7 separate regions of the Homo sapiens genome follow, and all the other regions are linked to region 5. The links are contacts of gene promoters, found by promoter capture Hi-C in blood cells and fetal thymus (Javierre and others, 2016). All regions are on one chromosome and are shown on one strand. Each heading gives the region's core, a stretch centred on a gene start or on the middle of the fragment in contact. The rest is flanking DNA. Distances are from core to core; before and after follow the strand shown. Region 1 has its middle 14 kb from the start of TARS3. Region 2 overlaps TARS3 (threonyl-tRNA synthetase 3). Region 3 has its middle 12 kb from the start of LINC02348. Region 4 overlaps LRRK1 (leucine rich repeat kinase 1). Region 5 holds the start of SNRPA1 (small nuclear ribonucleoprotein polypeptide A'). Region 6 overlaps TARS3 (threonyl-tRNA synthetase 3). Region 7 overlaps TARS3 (threonyl-tRNA synthetase 3).

Evidence for each region. Contacts are between HindIII fragments. The CHiCAGO score rates a contact against its expected background, and 5 or more counts as called.
Region 1: a fragment that was not itself captured here is called in contact with the fragment with the promoter of SNRPA1 in region 5 in 3 of 17 cell types (endothelial precursors, naive CD4 T cells and fetal thymus); the score reaches 6.8 in endothelial precursors.
Region 2: a fragment that was not itself captured here is called in contact with the fragment with the promoter of SNRPA1 in region 5 in 13 of 17 cell types (fetal thymus, megakaryocytes, naive B cells and 10 more); the score reaches 9.0 in fetal thymus.
Region 3: a fragment that was not itself captured here is called in contact with the fragment with the promoter of SNRPA1 in region 5 in 14 of 17 cell types (megakaryocytes, M1 macrophages, erythroblasts and 11 more); the score reaches 14.5 in megakaryocytes.
Region 4: a contact is called between a fragment that was not itself captured here and the fragment with the promoter of SNRPA1 in region 5, in 2 of 17 cell types (total B cells and M1 macrophages). The highest score is 7.0, in total B cells.
Region 6: a fragment that was not itself captured here is called in contact with the fragment with the promoter of SNRPA1 in region 5 in 13 of 17 cell types (megakaryocytes, M1 macrophages, erythroblasts and 10 more); the score reaches 10.3 in megakaryocytes.
Region 7: a fragment that was not itself captured here is called in contact with the fragment with the promoter of SNRPA1 in region 5 in 17 of 17 cell types (fetal thymus, total B cells, total CD8 T cells and 14 more); the score reaches 23.9 in fetal thymus.

Annotation. Positions count from the first base shown.
Region 1 is chr15:101,737,177-101,739,876 of GRCh38, forward strand. It overlaps the pseudogene UBE2Q2P13. Among named protein-coding and RNA genes, the nearest start is that of TARS3, 14 kb to the left of the region's middle. The HindIII fragment of the contact is 3,409 bases long and covers 1-2,700 here.
Region 2 is chr15:101,698,736-101,701,435 of GRCh38, forward strand. It overlaps TARS3 (threonyl-tRNA synthetase 3), which reads right to left. Exons shown (of 19, transcript NM_152334.3): 10 at 2,351-2,449. Among named protein-coding and RNA genes, the nearest start is that of TARS3, 24 kb to the right of the region's middle. The HindIII fragment of the contact is 5,634 bases long and covers 1-2,700 here.
Region 3 is chr15:101,625,147-101,627,846 of GRCh38, forward strand. No RefSeq gene overlaps it. Among named protein-coding and RNA genes, the nearest start is that of LINC02348, 12 kb to the left of the region's middle. The HindIII fragment of the contact is 3,259 bases long and covers 1-2,700 here.
Region 4 is chr15:100,921,700-100,924,456 of GRCh38, forward strand. The region is part of intron 1 of LRRK1 (leucine rich repeat kinase 1); the gene reads left to right. Among named protein-coding and RNA genes, the nearest start is that of LRRK1, 3.7 kb to the left of the region's middle. RefSeq lists an enhancer at 2,460-2,757. The HindIII fragment of the contact is 2,910 bases long and covers 1-2,757 here.
Region 5 is chr15:101,293,917-101,296,616 of GRCh38, forward strand. SNRPA1 (small nuclear ribonucleoprotein polypeptide A') reads right to left here and starts at 1,332. Exons shown (of 9, transcript NM_003090.4): 1 at 1,181-1,332. The coding sequence starts at 1,262. SNRPA1-DT (SNRPA1 divergent transcript) reads left to right here and starts at 1,432. Exons shown (of 2, transcript NR_186319.1): 1 at 1,432-1,813. RefSeq lists enhancers at 286-917, 1,481-1,530, 1,591-1,680 and a silencer at 1,061-1,250. The HindIII fragment of the contact is 2,362 bases long and covers 1-1,829 here.
Region 6 is chr15:101,676,365-101,679,064 of GRCh38, forward strand. All of the region lies in intron 12 of TARS3 (threonyl-tRNA synthetase 3), which reads right to left. Among named protein-coding and RNA genes, the nearest start is that of TM2D3, 25 kb to the left of the region's middle. RefSeq lists an enhancer at 1-230. The HindIII fragment of the contact is 5,094 bases long and covers 1-2,700 here.
Region 7 is chr15:101,720,049-101,722,774 of GRCh38, forward strand. It overlaps TARS3 (threonyl-tRNA synthetase 3), which reads right to left. Exons shown (of 19, transcript NM_152334.3): 3 at 1,078-1,274. Among named protein-coding and RNA genes, the nearest start is that of TARS3, 3.1 kb to the right of the region's middle. The HindIII fragment of the contact is 156 bases long and covers 1,234-1,389 here.

The DNA.
Region 1 (2,700 bases), core at 5-2,504, 440 kb after region 5:
CTTAACATTATATCATATTATCTCTTAACATTTAATTTCTAAATATAATGTTCATGAGGAAAAGAGAAAATAGCTTGGCTTCTCTCTTCACTGAATGGTTGTTCTTAGTATCTTCTAGATGTTCCAGAACTGATGTCAGATTTGGCTCGTCAGAGTCCACAAAACATATTGGTGAGAAAGATGAAGAGGATTCCTGTTTAGCACAGAGACACCTATGTTAAACATTTACATACAGACTAACCCAAATATGCAATTAAACCACACCACTAAATGGCAAGATTAACATGGATTTAAACAAAATGTATGGGGGGGAAAAGGCAACACATTAAAACCAATGTGAGGAGTTGGACTTTTGAGGCAGCCATTCTCTTTGCATAGCACTGTCTGCTACTACAGCTCATAGAAGTCAATAATTTTCTTCAGCACTGGTAGGCAGCCTCTAAATGGCCCCAATCACCCTCACCTCCTGGCATTCACACCCTTGTAAAATTCCCACCTCTGGACCTAGTGACTCACTTCTAACAAAGAGAATGCAACAGAAGTAATAACATCACTTCTGAGATGAGGCTACAAGGACAAAACGATGCCTGCCTTGGTCACCCTTCTCCTGCTCTTTCCATTGCTCCCTCTGATGGAAGCCAGTTGCCATGTGATGAGGTGCCCTATGGAGAGGCCCACGTGACAAGGTATTGTAAAAGCCCTCTGACCAATAGTCATCTAGAAACAGAGGCCCAGTACAACAGCCTGTGAGATAAATCCTGCCAACATATACGTGAGTGAGCTTGGAGATGGATTCCCTCCCTATCCTGCCTTGGGATGATCATAGCCGCCACCAACACCTTCACTGCCTGGTGAGAGGCCAAGCAAGTGAACCCAAGGTAAACTGCACAGAATCCTGACCCACAGAAACTGTGAGATAATGTTTGTTGTTTTAAGCTGCTAAATTTGTTACAGAGCAATAGATAACTAATTCAAACACCATAAAATTCTAATATTTTATTCTATCACACAAACCAAGTAATACCAAGAAATGCCATTGCTATACATGTATTTTTGGAACACAATTACATGTGATTTTTTTTAAAAAGCTAATGAACTAAGCATTATGTGCTTTTACCACTAACAGACATTTACTCTGTTACTTTCTACTGTTTCCTATTATAAATTGGGGAGAAGCCATTATTATTATATATTAGCTTCACAACAACTAGGTTCAAGTCATGGAAAACAATTTCGCACAAACTTTAGGAAACACTGCTTTGAAAACTGTAATCTGAATTATAGCTGAAGCCACAGAAACCAATTATTTACCAAAGGTTCTTTTAAGAAAAACAAGTTGGCCGGGCGTGATGGCTCATGCCTGTAATCCCAGCATTCTGGGAGGCCGAGGTGGGTGGATCACGAGGTCAGGAGATCAAGACCATCCTGTCTTGATCAAGAAACCCTGTCTCTACTAAAATAAAAAAAAAATTAGCGGGGCGTGATGGCATGCGCCTGTAGTCCCAGCTACTCAGGAGGCTGACACAGGGGAATCACTTGAACCAGGGAAGCAGAGGTTGCAGTGACCTGAGATTGCACCACTGCACTCCAGCCTGGTGACAGAGAAAGACTCTGTCCACCCCCCAAAAAAAAGAAAAAAGAAAAACAAGTTTTCTGGAAGGAGGACATCATTAACAGTATATCTCTTCAATAATGGTTTATTTTACTATTCTCATTCTTCTCATTCCTCTCTTACTATGTCCCAAATCTCTTTACAGGCTAAAAGAAACTCTTCAGAATTAATCCTATTCATGAAGAACACCACTTACTGAGTATTGCATTTTCTTCTTCAAATTCTTCAACATGCATTGGGAATACACCCTATGGACCATTTTTATGTGTTTAGTTTTGGGTTGTTTTTTTTTTTTTTTTTTTTTGGCTAAAGAAACTGCAACTAGATTTAGGACCTCATTCTATTAGGTTAGTATTTGTCTAGTAAACTTCAGCATAAGCAAAATAAAATACGTGTTGTTATTCTGGACTGAAACCCCTCAAAACCATATTTTAAAAATTATAAAAATAAATGAACTGAAATCATGTTTTTAAAAATCTTGTAGATGAAAAGATATGATATATAGTAGGTTTAACTACCTATTTCAACGGTTCCCAAAGTGGGGCCCTCAGATGCCCAGGTCCAAACTATTTTAACAGGAACACTAACATGGTGACATTTGCTTTAAGGGTGCAAATACAATAGTGGGTAAAAATGCTGGTACTTTAGCACAAACAGAGGCAGTAACACCAAACTAGTCATGGTATTCTTCACTATGCACAGGAAAGGTTTAAAAAGGAAGGGCAGGCTGGGCATGGTGTCTCACGCCTGTAATCCCAGCACTTTGGGAGGTGGAGGCAGGTGGATCACCTGAGGTCAGGAGTTTGAGACCAGCCTGGCCAACATGGTGAAACCCTATCTTTACAAAAAATACAAAATTTAGCTGGACATGGTGGTTGTATGCCTGTAGTCCCAGCTACTTAGAAGGCTGAGGCAGGAGGATTGATTGAGCCCAGAAGGTGGAGGCTACAGTGAGCTGTGATCATGCTACTGCACTCCAGCCTGGGTGACAGAATAAGGCCCTGTCTCAAAAATAAAAAGAATGTCTATGATGAATCAGTGAAAATTTTACTACATTTTTATCCTTGAATATGTCTTTTTAATATTTC
Region 2 (2,700 bases), core at 1-2,500, 400 kb after region 5:
AAACTGCACCCGAGGAGCCTCATCTGCAGCTAGGCCTGATTCAGAAGATGTCCTGGATTTTTGAGCCAATGTAGTAATTAGATGAGCCTTGGAATTATTTGTTAAGAATAGAACACTTTGGAAGAGTAGAATGGACTTCCCTACAGTCCTTTGGGGCTGAAAAGACATAAACCCACCAGCCTGTCAAGTGGAAACCCAAGGGGGTCATGACCTAGAAACAGGAATCAAAAGTTGAATCTTATTAAAGTGGAAGCCGGCCCTAACCCAGTGCAATCTCTGATCGAATTCAATGATCAGTCCTTAATAGTGGCAGAGGGTGAATGCTCCAGTGGGAGATATCATCTAGAGCCTCTACACCTAAATTACATGTAATACTTGGCATCTAACAAAATATTACTTGATATGGGAAGTGACACAACCATAATAACAAAAAACCAACAGAAAAAACAGCTGAGTTCTCCAAAAGGTTTTTTTCATGGTAAGGCCAATTCCTTCAGACAAAGGTATCCAGAAATGCAAAGTTCTCAGTGTCGCCTGTGTCTGTCAAATATTCCCATTCCAAGCCTCAGGGACCCTTCCCAACCAGTGCCCTTACCTTAGAATAAGAGATCACTGGGTTTGTGCATTTAAGTGCCTTTACAGTTTGGTGACCCTCACAATCAGGCCCTGCTCCTGTTCATCAGCCACATCTGTCTTGCATCTATAAAAAATAAGAGATCCCCTTAATGCCACTGTAAAGGCTTTCTGTTCATTCTCCATCTATTGTACTCCCAACTTGAGAGTACAAGGTGCCAGGGGCCATGCTGATTTTCCAGAGAAGACAGCACATCCAAATCAGCAGCTGTGATGGTCATCACCACCTGCCTAAATGTAAATCTCTGATAATCTTCAGTGATTCTTCAAGTCTCTTCCACTGCCCTCTGATCTCCTACCATTGCCTCGCATTGGCCAGTCCCTACTGGAAGATGTGTACCCCAGGTGATAGAATACAGACATGTCAGCCTCCAGGGGCACAGCACAAGAAGAAAAAGACGGAGAACAAGACTGGAGAAGCAAACAGAGAATAACCAGTGCAGGCCACATGCCATGGATTGTCTTCTCAGAAAGTTACTGAAGAAAGTGATCCCCAAATGAGAATTAAAGATAAGCAACGAAGAGATATACAGGGACCAGGAAAAGAGACTCAGCATAGGAAGAGACATGAGGGGAGTGGCCAAGATGATGATGAAAAGAAGTCCTAAGCCATCAGTTTGCAAGAATCTTAGTAGCAAGTTAATTCTGGAGTAGGACCAAATTTGAAAAAAAAAATTACTGAGCAATTACCTGAATCATTGCAGAATATGTTGCAAGGAGATTTGTAGTTTTTGAGAGAAATTGGAGCATGAATTAGTGGTAGGCACATAAAAAAACTAAGTAAATGAAAAATTTAGGTAATGATTATAGGAAAGACAAAACAGTGCAAGCATGGAAATGTAATCCCAGTAGTCCACCCGGATCACCTGTGAACACTATCTACACAGTCCTTATCATGTAAATACTAAAGACTTTCCCACCTATGAACTTGTAATACAAGTAGGTATTTTGCACTGTTGGTTTTTTCCTCTTTCCTCTGGAACTGCCAAATCACCTGGGAGTCATGCTATAGGCAAAGGGAAGCATCAGTGGCCCATGGAGCACATTTGGAGAAGCAATGCTTCATGGCTTAACACTCTGTACCAGAGACGACACTTTCTCCTTTCTTCTTTTTCACAGGGAGTGCCACACTTAGTCTAATGCTTACCTTTATATTCTACATGGTTTAGAAACTTATATGGACAAAAAGTGAATTTTATGAAATCCAGGAATGTATTCAGGGGAAACAGAAATTATCTCCATGTTATTATTAGAAGGTACAATCTAGTACCTCACTTTTTTTTTTTTTTTCTTTGAGATGGAGTCTTGCTCTGTCACCAGGCTGGAGCGCAGTGGCACAATCCTGGCTCACTGCAAACTCTGCCTCCCGGGTTCAAGCAATTCTCCTGCCAGCCTCCCAAGTAGCTGGGATTACAGGTGTGCACCACCACACTCGGCTAATTTTTGTATTTTTAGTAGAGACAGGGTTTCACCATGTTGGCCAGGCTGGTCTCGAACTCCTGACCTCAGGTGATCTGCCCACCTTGGCCTCCCAAAGTGCTGGGATTATAGGTGTGAGCCACCGTGTCTGGCCAGTATCTCACTTTTAACCTCAAAATTCTTATTAATGTTACCAAAGTAAAGTTAATGGAAACGCTTGACCACTTTATTATGAGAGAAAATAGTAAAAATGTAAACTGGAATTGAATAAGAATAAAACATTTTAAAGTTAACTTACTCGTATGAAATCTGTAAGCGTATTATAAATGAAGGCTCCTCTGGGAAGGAAAAAACAGCTTCCAGGACTCAAATCGTGGAAAAAGAAAAGTTCTTGTTCCTAGATTGAAACAAAAATTGCATTTCAAATGTCATCTGCTATTGCTTAATATTTACTGCACACACATATAATACTCAGTTATTTCCATCTTCTCTAGTAATAGACATTCCAAGGCCATTCAACACTTATACCTAAATGCATGCAACAGCATATGTAAAATTTCCAATCATATTTATGCCTAATTAGCTTTGAACTTAGCTTTTACTTCACCTTCTGCTATTCTCTGCGAATTTTCTTACTTGGCACACTTG
Region 3 (2,700 bases), core at 187-2,686, 330 kb after region 5:
TTCTTCTCCCGACTTGGAGTCTATGGTCAGGGAGACCGTGTTAGTTTGTCCTCCTGCTGCTAATAAAGACATCCCTGTGACTGGGTAGTTTATAAAGGAAAGAGGTTTAACTGACTCACAGCTTAGCATGGCTGAGGAGGCCTCAGGAAATTACAGTCATGGCAAAAGGGGAAGCACACATGTCCTTCTTCACATGGTGGCATCAAGGAGAAGTGCCAAGCAAAAAGGGGAAAAGCCCCTTACAAAACCATCAGATCTCATGAGAGCTCACTCACTGTCATGAGAACAGCAGCATAGGGTAACCGCCCTTATGATTCCATTACCTCCCACTGGGTCCCTCCCATGACATGTGGAGATTATGGGAGCTACAATTCAAGATGAGATTTGGGTGTGGACACAGACAAACCATATCAGAGACTGTAGTGGAGACCTGTTTGGCCATTTCTGTCTTGCATTAAGGAGAAAGAACCCTTCCTCCTCTACACCAGGACTCAGAGCAAACTTCAGGGTGAAGCCCTTTCAACTATTCTGATCCTACACTAACATGGGTAGAAGTGGCACCCCTCCCCCAATACCTATCACTGTGGAGACTGTAGAGTGAATCCTTTCTACCATCCCTCTGCTGCACTAAGCAAATGTCAGCAAAGAGGTGATGCTTCTCTCCCACTCCACTGGTGCATAGACTGTGACCATCCCCACCGTGCACGAAGCAAACAGCAGCAAAGAGGCAGCACCTCCTCCCCTCCCAATTAGAGCAGGGTAGGTAGGATTACGGAGGAGAGAACCTGTGTATTAATTCCTGGGCAGACCCCCAAGCAGCCTATGCCTAATAAGAATCAACACATTAGAAGATTGGAGAACTGAGCTGCAGTGTCAAACACTGCTATCATTTCACATTGGCCTCTGGGCAGCACATAAGCTGGGAAGACCAGGGTAGCAAACTAAATTGGCATTTGAATCTCAGCCTATGAAAGTGTACCGGAACATGCATCCTGAAGCTAAACAGGTTGACTGCCTGCTGAAAGAAGATTTAAATAGAAACCAGAACTTCATGACACAACACTCAGAATGTCCTAGTTACAATCCACAATTACTCATCACACTATGACCAAGGACATCTCAATTTGAATGCAAAAAGGCAAACAACAGACAGCAACACCAAGATAATACAGATACTATAATTGTCTGACAAGGGTTTTAAGGAACCAGCATAAAAATGCTCCAAAAAGTAAATAGTAACACTGTGGGAGAAAAAAAAAAAGAAAAAATAGAAACTCTAAACAAAGGAAAAGAAAACTTACCACGGGAGGAGCCAAGATGTCCGAATAGGAACAGCTCTGGTCTACAGCTCCCAGCGTGAGCGACGCAGAAGATGGGTGATTTCTGCATTTCCATCTGAGGTACCGGGTTCATCTCACTAGGGAGTGCCAGACAGTGGGCGCAGGTCAGTGGGTGCGTGCACCGTGCGCGAGCCGAAGCAGGGCGAGGCATTGCCTCACTTGGGAAGAGCAAGGGGTCAGGGAGTTCCCTTTCCGAGTCAAAGAAAGGGGTGACGGACGGCACCTGGAAAATCGGGTCACTCCCACCCGAATATTGCGCTTTTCAGACCCGCTTAAAAAACGGCGCACCACGAGATTATATCCCGCACCTGGCTCGGAGGGTCCTACCCCACGGAGTCACACTGATTGCTAGCACAGCAGTCTGAGATCAAACTGCAAGGCGGCAGCGAGGCTGGGGGAGGGGCGCCCGCCATTGCCCAGGCTTCCTTAGGTAAACAAAGCAGCCTAAAGCTCGAACTGGGTGGAGCCCACCACAGCTCCAGGAGGCCTGCCTGCCTCTGTAGGCTCCACCTATGGGGGCAGGGCACAGCCAAACAAAAAGACAGCAGTAACCTCTGCAGACTTAAATGTCCCTGTCTGACAGCTTTGAAGAGAGCAGTGGTTCTCCCAGTACACAGCTGGAGATATGGGAACCGGCAGACTGCCTCCTCAAGTGGGTCCCTGACCCCTGACCCCTGAGCAGCCTAACAGGGAGGCACCCCCCAGCAGGGGCAGACTGACACCTCACAGGGCCCAGTACTCCAACAGACCTGCAGCTGAGGGTCCTGTCTGTTAGAAGGAAAACTAACAAACAGAAAGGACATCCACACCGAAAACCCATCTGTACATCACCATCATCAAAGACCAAAAGTAGATAAAACCACAAAGATGGGGAAAAAACAGAACAGAAAAACTGGAAACTCTAGAAAGCAGAGCGCCTCTCCTCCTCCAAAGGAACGCAGTTCCTCACCAGCAACGGAACAAAGCTGGATGGAGAATGACTTTGACGAGCTGAGAGAAGAAGGCTTCAGACAATCAAATTACTCTGAGCTACGGGAGGACATTCAAACCAAAGGCAAAGAAGTTGAAAAACTTTGGAAAAAATTTAGAAGAATGTATAACTAGAATAACCAATACAGAGAAGTGCTTAAAGGAGCTGATGGAGCTGAAAACCAAGGCTCGAGAACTACGTGAAGAATGCAGAAGCCTCAGGAGCCGATGCGATCAACTGGAAGAAAGGGTATCAGCGATGGAAGATGAAATGAATGAAATGAAGTGAGAAGGGAAGTTTAGAGAAAAAAGAATAAAAACAAATGAGCAAAGCCTCCAAGAAATATGGGACTATGTGAAAAGACCAAATCTACGTCTGATTGGTGTACCT
Region 4 (2,757 bases), core at 115-2,614, 370 kb before region 5:
TTGTAGAATGAATGACAGGTTCTTCTCTTTTCTTTTCTCTAGAGTCTTGCTCTGTCACCCAGGTTGGAGTGCAGTGGTGCAATCTTGGCTCACTGCAACCTCCACCTCCCCCAGTTTAAGTGATTCTCATGCCTCGGCCTCCCAAGTAGCTGGGATTACAGGCGCCCACCAGCATGCCCAGCTAATTTTTGTAATTTTAGTAGAGATGGGTTTTTACCATATTGGCCAGGGTGATCTCGAACTCCTGACCTCAAGTGATCCACTCTCCTCGGCCTCCCAAAGAGCTGGGATTACAAGCGTGAACCACCGCACCCATCTATTTTCTTTTCCATTAAATGTTTAGGTTTATTCATTAATGCAGGTATAAATAGTTGGCAAAAGGAAATTGATGAGGTTTTGAAAAATCATTTAAACCATCATTACTGCTGAAAACCTCTTGATGCCCTCTTTAGGGTGTATAATGAAGACATGTAACTTGTAATCATCACTTGTTGGCACCTCTCTGGACCCAAAAGAAGCAGGAGGAAGCAAAGATCCGTTTGAGGGCAAAGATTGAGCAAAATTTGAATTACCTCATCTTAAAACTTCTACCTTAGAATATAAGCCAAAATAGTAACTAGAATTTTAAAACTGCTCCAGGGGCAGAGTCTTCCACTGGTAAAGTGATTTTCAAAAGGAAACTGAAAATGAAAAGGGGAACAAAATGTGCTGGGTGAGGGTTAGCCTGAAATAATTTTAAGATTTTTTTTTTTTTAGAACTTAAAAACATTGTATGGTAAGACACTTCTGTTTTCAGGAAGAATGTCTAGCGTTTGGATTTTTGAAATGCTGTTGGTTATGTGCGGTAGCTGTTTTGGAGAGGTGTCTGAAAGCAGATGGCAACTGTGCTTCTCAGTTTCTGGATGTGAATGTGTGATCGGAACGTTTATTTTAAAACAGATTCTGTCTTGCTGGCTCTTCCTCTCTCTGTCACAAGTTGATTTTCCAAATCAGGTTTTGCTATTTATAAGGCTTTCATCATCCCCTAAATTTTGCCCAGATTGATCGTTTTTCCTTTCCTCCTTCGACTTTTCAGGCTTCCCAACTTCAAACACAGGTGTTTCCCACACGTGGTTTGTGTCGACCATCCCTTTTGCCTCTGAAACATGTGCAGCTTGCACAAGGCTGCTGGAGCCTGGCTTTTCTAGCTCCACCTTTCCCTGCCTTGACGAGTCCAGTCCACCTGGGCCAGGTGCCTGAGTTCTAGGCTTTTAGGTGAGAAATTCCCACAGCCTTGTCCTGTACCTTACTTCGTGCCCCTACTGCTCACGGCATCTTCTAGAACCTACCCGCTGGTGAGGCTGGCATCTGCCCTCCAGCATTGATATTCTGATCTTATTAATTAGCAGGGAAGTGGGAGACCCGCTGGCCTCCAAGTCTGTGCGCTGGTACTACAGGTAATGACCACCCCAGCCCTGTCGTAGAGAGAGGCTGCAGAAACTTCACTTTGGTTGAATTCACACAGTAACCCCACTAGCAGGCCCGGGCATAAGGGTGGATGTCTATTTTTAACAGGTGAAAACTGAGACACACATACCTTTCAGCTGGGAGTCACACTGCGAACATGTGACACAGGCAGTCCACACCTTTAACGTCCACGCTATGCTTTTGCCTGTACAGATTCTCTTAGGCATTATTTTTATATAACCTTGATTTAAAAAATATATTTTTGGCTGCACTATCACTCCCCATTTCAGAGTTGTCTATCTGAGAGAACACAGACAAGAGGTGCTAATTACCTCGTACTTCATCACATGTAGGATATGCTATAAGAACAAGGATAGGCGCACATGCATTACTTATGGTAGTACCTCATGTCAGGCCTGAGCTAGGCATGGGTCTTACCCTCCCTCTGGTCCTTCAATCACCATACCAGGATGGGCACTTATGCCCATGGGGGGACTCTAAGCTCAGTGGGGGCCCAGCATAGAAGAGCAGCACTTGGTCTCAGTTTATCATAGTCATTAGTTTCAGAGATTAGTCTAACTCCACCCTGGAACTTTTGGGGCCAGATAATTCTTTGTTGCAAATAGCAGTCCTGTACATTGTAGGATGTTTAGCAGCATCATTGACCTCTACCCATTAGAGGCCTGTAGCACTCTCCCCCAGCCAAGTTGTGGCAACCAAAAATGTCTCCAGACATTGCCAAATGTCCCCTGGGAAAGGGGCAGAATTTTTGAGGCTCATGTCTGCTAACCTCCGTCATTTAGCTTTCTGCTAAAGCTCATGCTAACTTGACTTCATAACCAGTAATAATTCCATGTCTTTGGAACTGTTGCCTGACCACCCCCTTGGGATGACGTGCTCACCTCTGGCTTCCAGAAGAACTGGCCCCGGGCAAAAGGAGAGCCTTGTATCGTGACTAACCTTAACTATGTCTGCCCTACCCCCACTGGAGTGTGCCCCTGAGGGCAAGAGCCTCCTTGAGCCATCTTGGTGCCACTGAGCCTCACACAGAGCCTGGCTACCTTGCATGTGACAGTAGGTGTGCGTTGACTGAACAATGATTGAAGCTGTTACCAGTATGTGTTTTCCAATTGTCTGGGGTTTGTTTGAGACTCTTCTCAGGTAGACAATACCTGAGCCCCGCATCAAGATGGGATGGGGGGAGCTGTGCCTTCCCACTGACCACACCTGATGGGTTTGGCTGGATAGATGGACTACAAAAAGGAATGTTGCAGAGGGAAAACTAAATGAACCCATGCAAATATTTGCAGG
Region 5 (2,700 bases), core at 82-2,581:
GAGAAATGGCAGAGATCATCAAAAGTGGTGAGTTGGGCCGGGCGCAGTGGCTCAAGCCTGTAATCCCAGCACTTCGGGAGACCAAGGCGGGCGGATCACCTGAGGTCGGGAGTTCGAGACCAGCCTGACCAACATGGAGAAACCATGTCTTTACTAAAAATACAAAAAATTAGCCGGGCGTGGTGGCGCATGCCTGTATTCCCAGCTACTCGGGAGGCTTGAGACACAGGAATCACCTGAACCGGGGAGGCGGCGGTTGCAGTGAGCCGAGATCACGCCACTGCGCTCCAGCTGGGGCGGAAAGAGCGAGACTCCATCTCAACACAACACAACACAAAACAGTGGGATTTCCCAAAGGTCGGCAAGAAATCTAAGCAGATCCCGCAGCGATGCTGCTCCGAGGCCATAGGTCCCCATGGGAACAAATCTCAGGCTACGACAGCATGGTCTTATCCTCAGAGAAGTTGCTCTATCACGTCCCTTTTAAAGCCGTCTCCTGAAATGCCAACTAGCTAGCTGCCCTCCCAGTATCTTACCAAGTCTTGCTAAGGTTGAAATAGTACAGGAATCTGAATAATTGCGAGCGCTTCCACAACTTACACACAGCACCCGGCGGTGCAAGCCTGGGTGACACAGTTCAATTTTTAAAACGTCTTCATATAGGGGAAACGCCAGACAATTAAAGCTACTAAGTAGAAAATACTGGAGGAAACAATCGCGGTTGTTCGGGGACTTAGTTTCCTCCCTCACATTAGGAATAATGAACACATATCCTATCTACGCTCAAAATATCATCTGGCGGCAAGTATTAAGAACCAATCCCGCGCCCTGCACTTGCGTTACAACCATTAATGAGCCGCTCTTCCGGGCCCTCAAACAGCCAGCGGCGAAACAGCCAAGCAAGGCCTAACAGGGCCCCACGAGGACGCACCAGGAAGTAATGAAGTCACCCGTGCCTGTCAAGAGGCACGGCGCTAACAGAAGGCTCCCAGGAGCTTAACCGGATGCTCATCTGGCAACAACGGCAAGAATCAGGCCCGGCGTTCCCTGCGCAGCCCGGTCGGAGCCCAGACAACCGGCCCGCGGGCCAAGCTCCGGCCTTCGGTGCACGCGGCAAAGCGCGGAAAATAAGGCGGCTCGGTGCCGCCTGGGGACTGGCCGCCCACGCCCCCGGACTCACCCCGGAGGTCCAGCTCCCGGTCGCGCACCGCGTTGGTGTACTGCGCCGCCTGCTCGATCAGCTCCGCCGTCAGCTTGACCATCCTGCAGCCTCCCGTTCCCCCGCGCTGTGGAAAGCCCGTGGCCTCCCGCCAGCGAGACGTCCCAGCGTGCCCCGCGCCCCGCCGCCAGGCAGCACCAATCGCAGCCGCCGAGTGCGCGCGCAGCTCGACCGCCAGGCCGAAGCAATCGAAGAGCCACGCCTCCGGGGGCGTTCTTGCCGGAAGTCGTGGCGCGCGCACAGGGGATGTGTCTCGTTCTGGGTTGTTTCCTAGGGTGTGTTTCGGAGTCTGGAGGACCCCTGATTCCAGACGTTGGTGTTTAAAAGTTAAGGCGAATGTGGAAACACCCGAGGGGAACTTTCTCATGCATTAGCGCACCTCGAGGTGGGAGGGGAAGCGGTGACTGTCCTCCCTCCACCAGCCGTCGCGGGAACCCGTGGGGTTCAGTGAAGGGTCCAGCAGTTCAGGTGCCCGCCCCGGGCCTGGGCCTTGGCTCCGGGCTACAGTGTGAGATCCCGGGCTAGGTGGCCCGCCTGGGGCAGGTCGCCGGGACAACCCCACCGCCCCGCAAGTCCAGCCCGGCCTCGGGCACGGTAGGGTTTGCGGTTAAGCTTGTGACCTTTAGACTTCTGAATATTCATATGTATGAAATGTGATATACATAAAAGTGTGCATATCAGGAATTTACAGTGATTAATGACCAGAGTGAACACAGCTGCGTAGCCGACACCGGGATCCAAAACACCGCTATTCTGAAAGCCTCCCTCTTTCCCAAAAGGCAACCGCGAACTCAACACTACAAATTCGGTTTGCTTGCTTTTGCTATAAATAGAATCATGCAGTATGCTTTTTTTTTTGGCCTAGTTTCATGGAGTCTATATTATGTCTGGAGTCCATCCAGGTTGCATACAGAGATGGTTTGTTTGCTTTTGCTGCTGAAGAGAATTCCATTGTATATATTATACCATAAATTACTTATTCTGCTGTTGATAGACATCAAAGTTGTTTTCAGTTAGGGCTATTCTGAGTAATGCTACTATGAATTTTCTGGTACGTGGTTCTGATGCACGTTTGCATGAGTTTGTCCTGGAGTGGGACTGCTGGGACATAGGGTATATCTATCATCAATAAGTAATGCCCAACAGTTATGCTAAGAGGCTGAAATAATATACACACTCCAGCGGTGTGTAAGGGTTTTCATGGCTTCCAGCTTCAGCCTTCTTGGCATTTTAACTCTATAACTTCAGCTATTCTGATGGGTGTGTGGTGGTATTGCACTACTGCTTTGCTTTGCTTTTCTCTAATAACTAATGAAGCTGAGAACCTTCTCATGTGTATGGTGCCCATTCTGATAGCTTCCTTGGTTAAGTGTTCTTTCGAGTCCCTGGCTCATTTTTTTTTTTTCCTTATGGAGTTGTCTGCCTTTTTTCTTATTGATTTGTGGAATTTCTTTATATATTAGGGATATGAACACACTCTG
Region 6 (2,700 bases), core at 56-2,555, 380 kb after region 5:
CCATCAGGAAGCTGGCTGAGTCAATTAGGAGCAAGATGACAGTGGCTTAAACCAGAGAGAGGCAGCTGAAATGCAGGGAATTTGATGGATTTGAGACATCAAGTCTTTCATTCATTAACTGCAATGGCTAGTTTTTTGTTTTGTTTTGTTTTTTGAGACAGTCTTGCTCTGTCACCCAGGCTGGAATGCAGTGGTGTGGTCTTGGCTCACTGCAACCTCTGCCTCTCGGGTTCAAGCGGTTCTCATGCCTCAGGCTCCCGAGTAGCTGGAACTACAGGTGCTCGCCACCATGCTCGGCTAATTTTTGTATTTTTTTTTTTTTAGTAGAGAAGGGGTTTCGCCATGTTGGCCAGGCTGGTCTCGAACTCCTGGCCTCAAGTGACCCACCTGCCTCAGCCTCCCAAAGTGCTGGGATTATAGGCATGAGCCACTACACCCTTTTTTTTTTTTTTTTAAGTTCCTGGGTGCACGTGCAGGATGTGTAGTTTGTTACATAGGTATATGTGTGCCATGGTGGTTTGCTCCACCTATGAACCCGTCACCTAAGTATTTAAGCCCAGAATGCATTAGCTATTTATCCTGATGCTCTCCCTCCCTCCTCTTCCCTCCGACAGGCCCCAGTGTGTGTTGTTCCCCTCCCTGTGTCCATCTGTTCTCATTGTTCAGTTCCCACTTATAAGTGAGAACATATGGAGTTTGGTTTTCTATTCCTGTGTTAGTTTGCTGAGGATAATGGCTTGTGATGGCTACTTTTAAGTGTTAACTCGACTGAGCTAAAAGATGCCAGACAGCTGGCCACCCTTACAACATTTATTTCTGGGAATGCCTGTGAGTGCGTTTCTCGAAGAGATGAGCATCTGAATCAGTGGAATTGGTAAACAACTTCCACCCTCACCAATGTGGGTGGGCCTCATCCAATCTGTTGAGGGCAGGAATAGAACTCAAAGGCAGAGGAAAGGCAAATTCTCTCTCTTTTTGAGTTGGGACATTTATTTTCTCCTGTTCTCAGACACTGGAGCTCCTGGTTCTCAGGCCCACCAACTCTGGGACTTACACCAGCTCCCTCCTTTGCTCACCCCACTGAGGCTTTTGGCCTTAGACTGGGAGTTATACCATCAGCTTTCCTAGTTCTCCAGCTTTTTTTTTTTTTTGAGACGGAGTTTTGCTCTTGTTGCCCAGGCTGCAGTGCAATGGCACAGTCTCAGCTCACCACAACCTCCACCTCCCGGGTTCAAGCAATTCTCCTGTCTCAGCCTCCTGAGTAGCTGGGATTACAGGCACATGCCACCACGCCTGGCTAATTTTGTATTTTTAGTAGAGACAGGGTTTCTCCATGTTAGTCAGTCTAGTCTCGAACTCCCAACCTCAGGTGATCCACCCACCTCAGCCTCCCAAAGTGCTGGGATTACAGGCACGTGCCACCAAGCCTGGCTAATTTTGTATTTTTAGTAGAGACAGGGTTTCTCCATGTTAGTCAGTCTGGTCTCGAACTCCCAACCTCAGGTGATCCACCCACCTCAGCCTCCCAAAGTGCTGGGACTACAGGTGTGTGCTACCATGCCTGGCCTTTCTCCAGCTTTTAATTGGCATATCATGGGACTTCTTTTTTTTTGGGGGTCATTTTTTTTTTTTTTTTGAGATGGAGTATCACTGTCACCCAGGCTGGAGTGCAGTGGCATGATCTCGGCTCACTGCAACCTCTGCCTCCCAAGTTCAAGCGATTCTCTTGCCTCAGCATCCTGATAGCTGGGATTACAGGTGTGTGCCACCACACCCAGCTAATTTATGTATTTTTAGTAGAGATGGGGTTTCACCATGTTGGTCAGGCTGGTCTTGAACTCCTGACCTCATGATCTGCCTGCCTCAGCCTCCCAAAGTGCTGGAATTACAGGCATGAGCCACCTCACCCAGCCTGGGTCATATTTTTTAATCTACTATGTCAATCTCTTTTAATTGGTTTATTTAGACCATTTACACTTAATATGTTAGGGCTTTACACTGCCTTTTTGTTTCCTTCTTGTTCTCTCTTGTTATTCATTTCTGTTTTATTTTTCCTGTCTTCCTATGGATTACTTTAACATTTTTCTGGAATTCAATTCCAATTTATCTATAGGTTCTCTTAGTGTATCCCTGTCTATAGCTTTTTTTTTTATTGGTTTCTCTAGGTATTATATAACTTATCAGTCCAGATATTGTCACTTTACCAGCTCAGGTGAAGTACAAAAACTTTTATTCCCTATACCTTACCCCATTTATAGTATAATTTTCTTAAACATTTCTTCTACATACATTTAGAACATCAGAAAGAACATGTGATTTTTACTTCAATGATCAAACATAATTTAGAAAACGCAAAAGGAGAAGGAAAATATATTGTATTTACCTGTTTTTATTTTCACAATCTTTTTCTTCCTAAAGTTCCCTGATTCCTCTTTTCATCATTTCCTTTCTGTTTAGAAAACTTCCTACAGCCATTCTTTTGGTGGGTCCAATGTCTTGATTTCCCCTCAATTGCTGAAGGGTATTTTCTTTAGACATAGAATTCTGGGTTGAAAATTCCTTTTTCTTTTTTCAGCACTTTAAAAGTATTGTGCCACTTCCTTCTGGCCTCCAGGATTTTTGTTTTTTGTTTTTTAATGAGAAATTGCTATCATTCAAATTGTTTTTCTCTTTAAAGGTAATGCATAATTTCTCTCTCAT
Region 7 (2,726 bases), core at 62-2,561, 430 kb after region 5:
GAAAACAAACTTATTCTTGCCTCAAAACCTGTTTTCTCCTAGCACATCATTCCTCCTGGAAAACATGAAAACAGGCTGGGAGAGCATTTAACAATATAATAGGATGAATCAGAAATACAATCTTAGCCATAGTTTTCAAAGAAAATCTGAGAATTTCAGTTGTTGAAACAGTTTGCTTTTTAAATGATGAACATTTATTTACATGGCATTAATACAATTGTATAGAAGCTATATAATTGTATTTATACAATAGCTTCTATACAATTGTATTTAATGCTAAGAATTAACATGAGTCAAAACAATATAAGTTCACTAATGTATCTAATTTCTAGAAAAGTCAAAGCACTTTTCCAAGACTGATAATAGCTCTAAAACATTTATCTTCAATCTATACTTAAAAGACCTGTAAAAACTCATGGAAATTACTTGATTGACGAATAAAGTCAGTGTAAAATGGCCTATCAAGAATTACAGATTTTTTTCTCTCCTATATATTTTTATTAGAACAGGAAATGATTGTGTTCTGATATTCAACTACTTATTTACATGGCCCTTGGAGAAGCCAGAGGAAAAAAATTAAATACATTTAATTTATTCAACTGAATAAAAAAAAAATTAGCTGATATGGTTTGGCTGTGTGCCCATCCAAACCTCATCTTGAACTCTAGTTCCCATAATCCCCACGTTTTGTGGAAGGGACCCAGTGGGAGGTAACTGAATCACAGGGGCTGTTACCTCCATGCTGTTCTTTGATAGTGAGTGCATTCTCATGAGATCTGATGGTTTTATAAGGGGTTTTCCCCCCACTTTGCTCTGCACTTCTCCTTGCCGCTGCCATGTGAAGAAGGACATGCTTGCTTCCCCTTCTGCCACGACTGTAAGTTTCCTGAAGCCTCCCCAGCCCTGCGGAACTGTGAGTCAATTAAATCTTCTTCCTTTATAAATAACCCAGTCTCAGACATGTCCTTTTAGTATCGTGAGAATGGAGTAATATATTAGCGGTCCCTAAGAAAACATTTTCACCAGGCTTCAGTATAATTACTTAAGATTGAATATCTTTTCCACACTGCGGTTTACCTAATTTCAGCAGCCACTTGGTAAGGCGTTGTTTTCCAGACTTCCCCTTGCACTGTTTGCCCATCAGCCACTCTTACTGTGATGATGTTGCTTGTATCCCCCTTTTTTCCATAAATGGCAAGTAAGAGCTGATGGTCTTTCTTCAGTATTTCAAAAAGCTTCAATCTTTCTTTTATGAAAATTGGTTGATGCTTCACCTGGAAATTATTAGAACATAATGAGATTAATATATACAGCCTACTGTTTTCCAGCTGCTCAGCTCTGAATCAGGCTCACCCCCTTACTGCCTTCTCAGTTCTACAGATGGTCCCAAGCTTACCATGGTTTGAATTACGATTTTGTTGTTGTTGTTGTTTTTTGGTTTGTTGTTGTTGTTGCTGTTGTTTTGAGATGGAGTCTTGCTTTGTCGCCCAGGCTGGAGTGCAGGGGCACGAAATCAGCTCACTGCAGCCTCTGTCTCCTAGGTTCAAGCGATTTTCCTGCCTCGGCCACCCGAGTAGCTGGGATTACAGGCACGCACCACCCTGCCAGACTAATTTTTGTATTTGTAGTAGAGATGGGGTTTCGCCATGTTGGCCAGGCTGGTCTCGAACTCCTGACCTCAAATGATTTACCTGCCTTGGCCTCCCAAAATGCTGGGATTACAGGCGTGAGTCACCGTATCCAGCCGCAATTTTTCAACTTTAGTGATGTGAAAGTCATATGCATTCAGTAGAAACTGTACTTTGAGTATCCATACAACCATTGTGTTTTTCACTCAGTACAGTATTCAATAAATTACATGAGATATTCAACACTTCATAATAAAATAGGCTTTATGTTAGAGGATTTTGCCCAACTGTAAGCTAATCTAAGTGTTCTGAGCACTTTTAATGTAGGCTAGGCTAAACTACGATGATCACTAGCTTACGTGTATTAAATACATTTTTAACTCACATTGGTTTTATTGGGACATAACCCAACTGTAAGACTAAGAGCATGTGTACTTCCCACCTCCAAAAGGCTCCTCTCTGCCTATCTAACTTCTCCTTAGCTCTAAAGGTCCACCTCAAAGCCTGCCTCCTCTACCTATTTTACCCGCTGGCATCTCCCTTTTTTTTTTTTTTTTCCTTTGAGACAGCCCCACGCCCAGCCCCCATGACACCTCCCTTTTCTACTGTTTACAGAACGTGTACAGAGTCACACATTACAGCACTTACTTGTATACCATCGTACTCTGTTCTCTAGTTGTTTGTCCTGAGTCTGCCTGAATTCCTCAACCAGACTAACTTCTTTGGGCCTAGGTATTCCTTCTTCACTCCTACCAAATGTTGATGCTAGATAAATACTTACTGATTGTTTTAATGCTTTATATACAAAAGCAAAGTAGCTAGTTTCTCGAATACAAAAAAAAAAAAAAGACCGGGGGCGGTGGCTCACGCCTGTAATCCCAGCACTTTGGGAAGCCAAGGTGGGCGGATCATGAGGTCAGGAGATCGAGATCCTCCTGGCTAACACGGTGAAACCCCATCTCTACTAAAAAAAAAAAAAAAAAAAAAAAAAAATTAGCCGGGCTTGGTGGCATGCACCTGTAGTCCCAGCTACTCAGGAGGCTGAGGCAGGAGAATCGCTTGAACCTGGGAGGTGGAGGCTGCAGTAACCGAGATCAT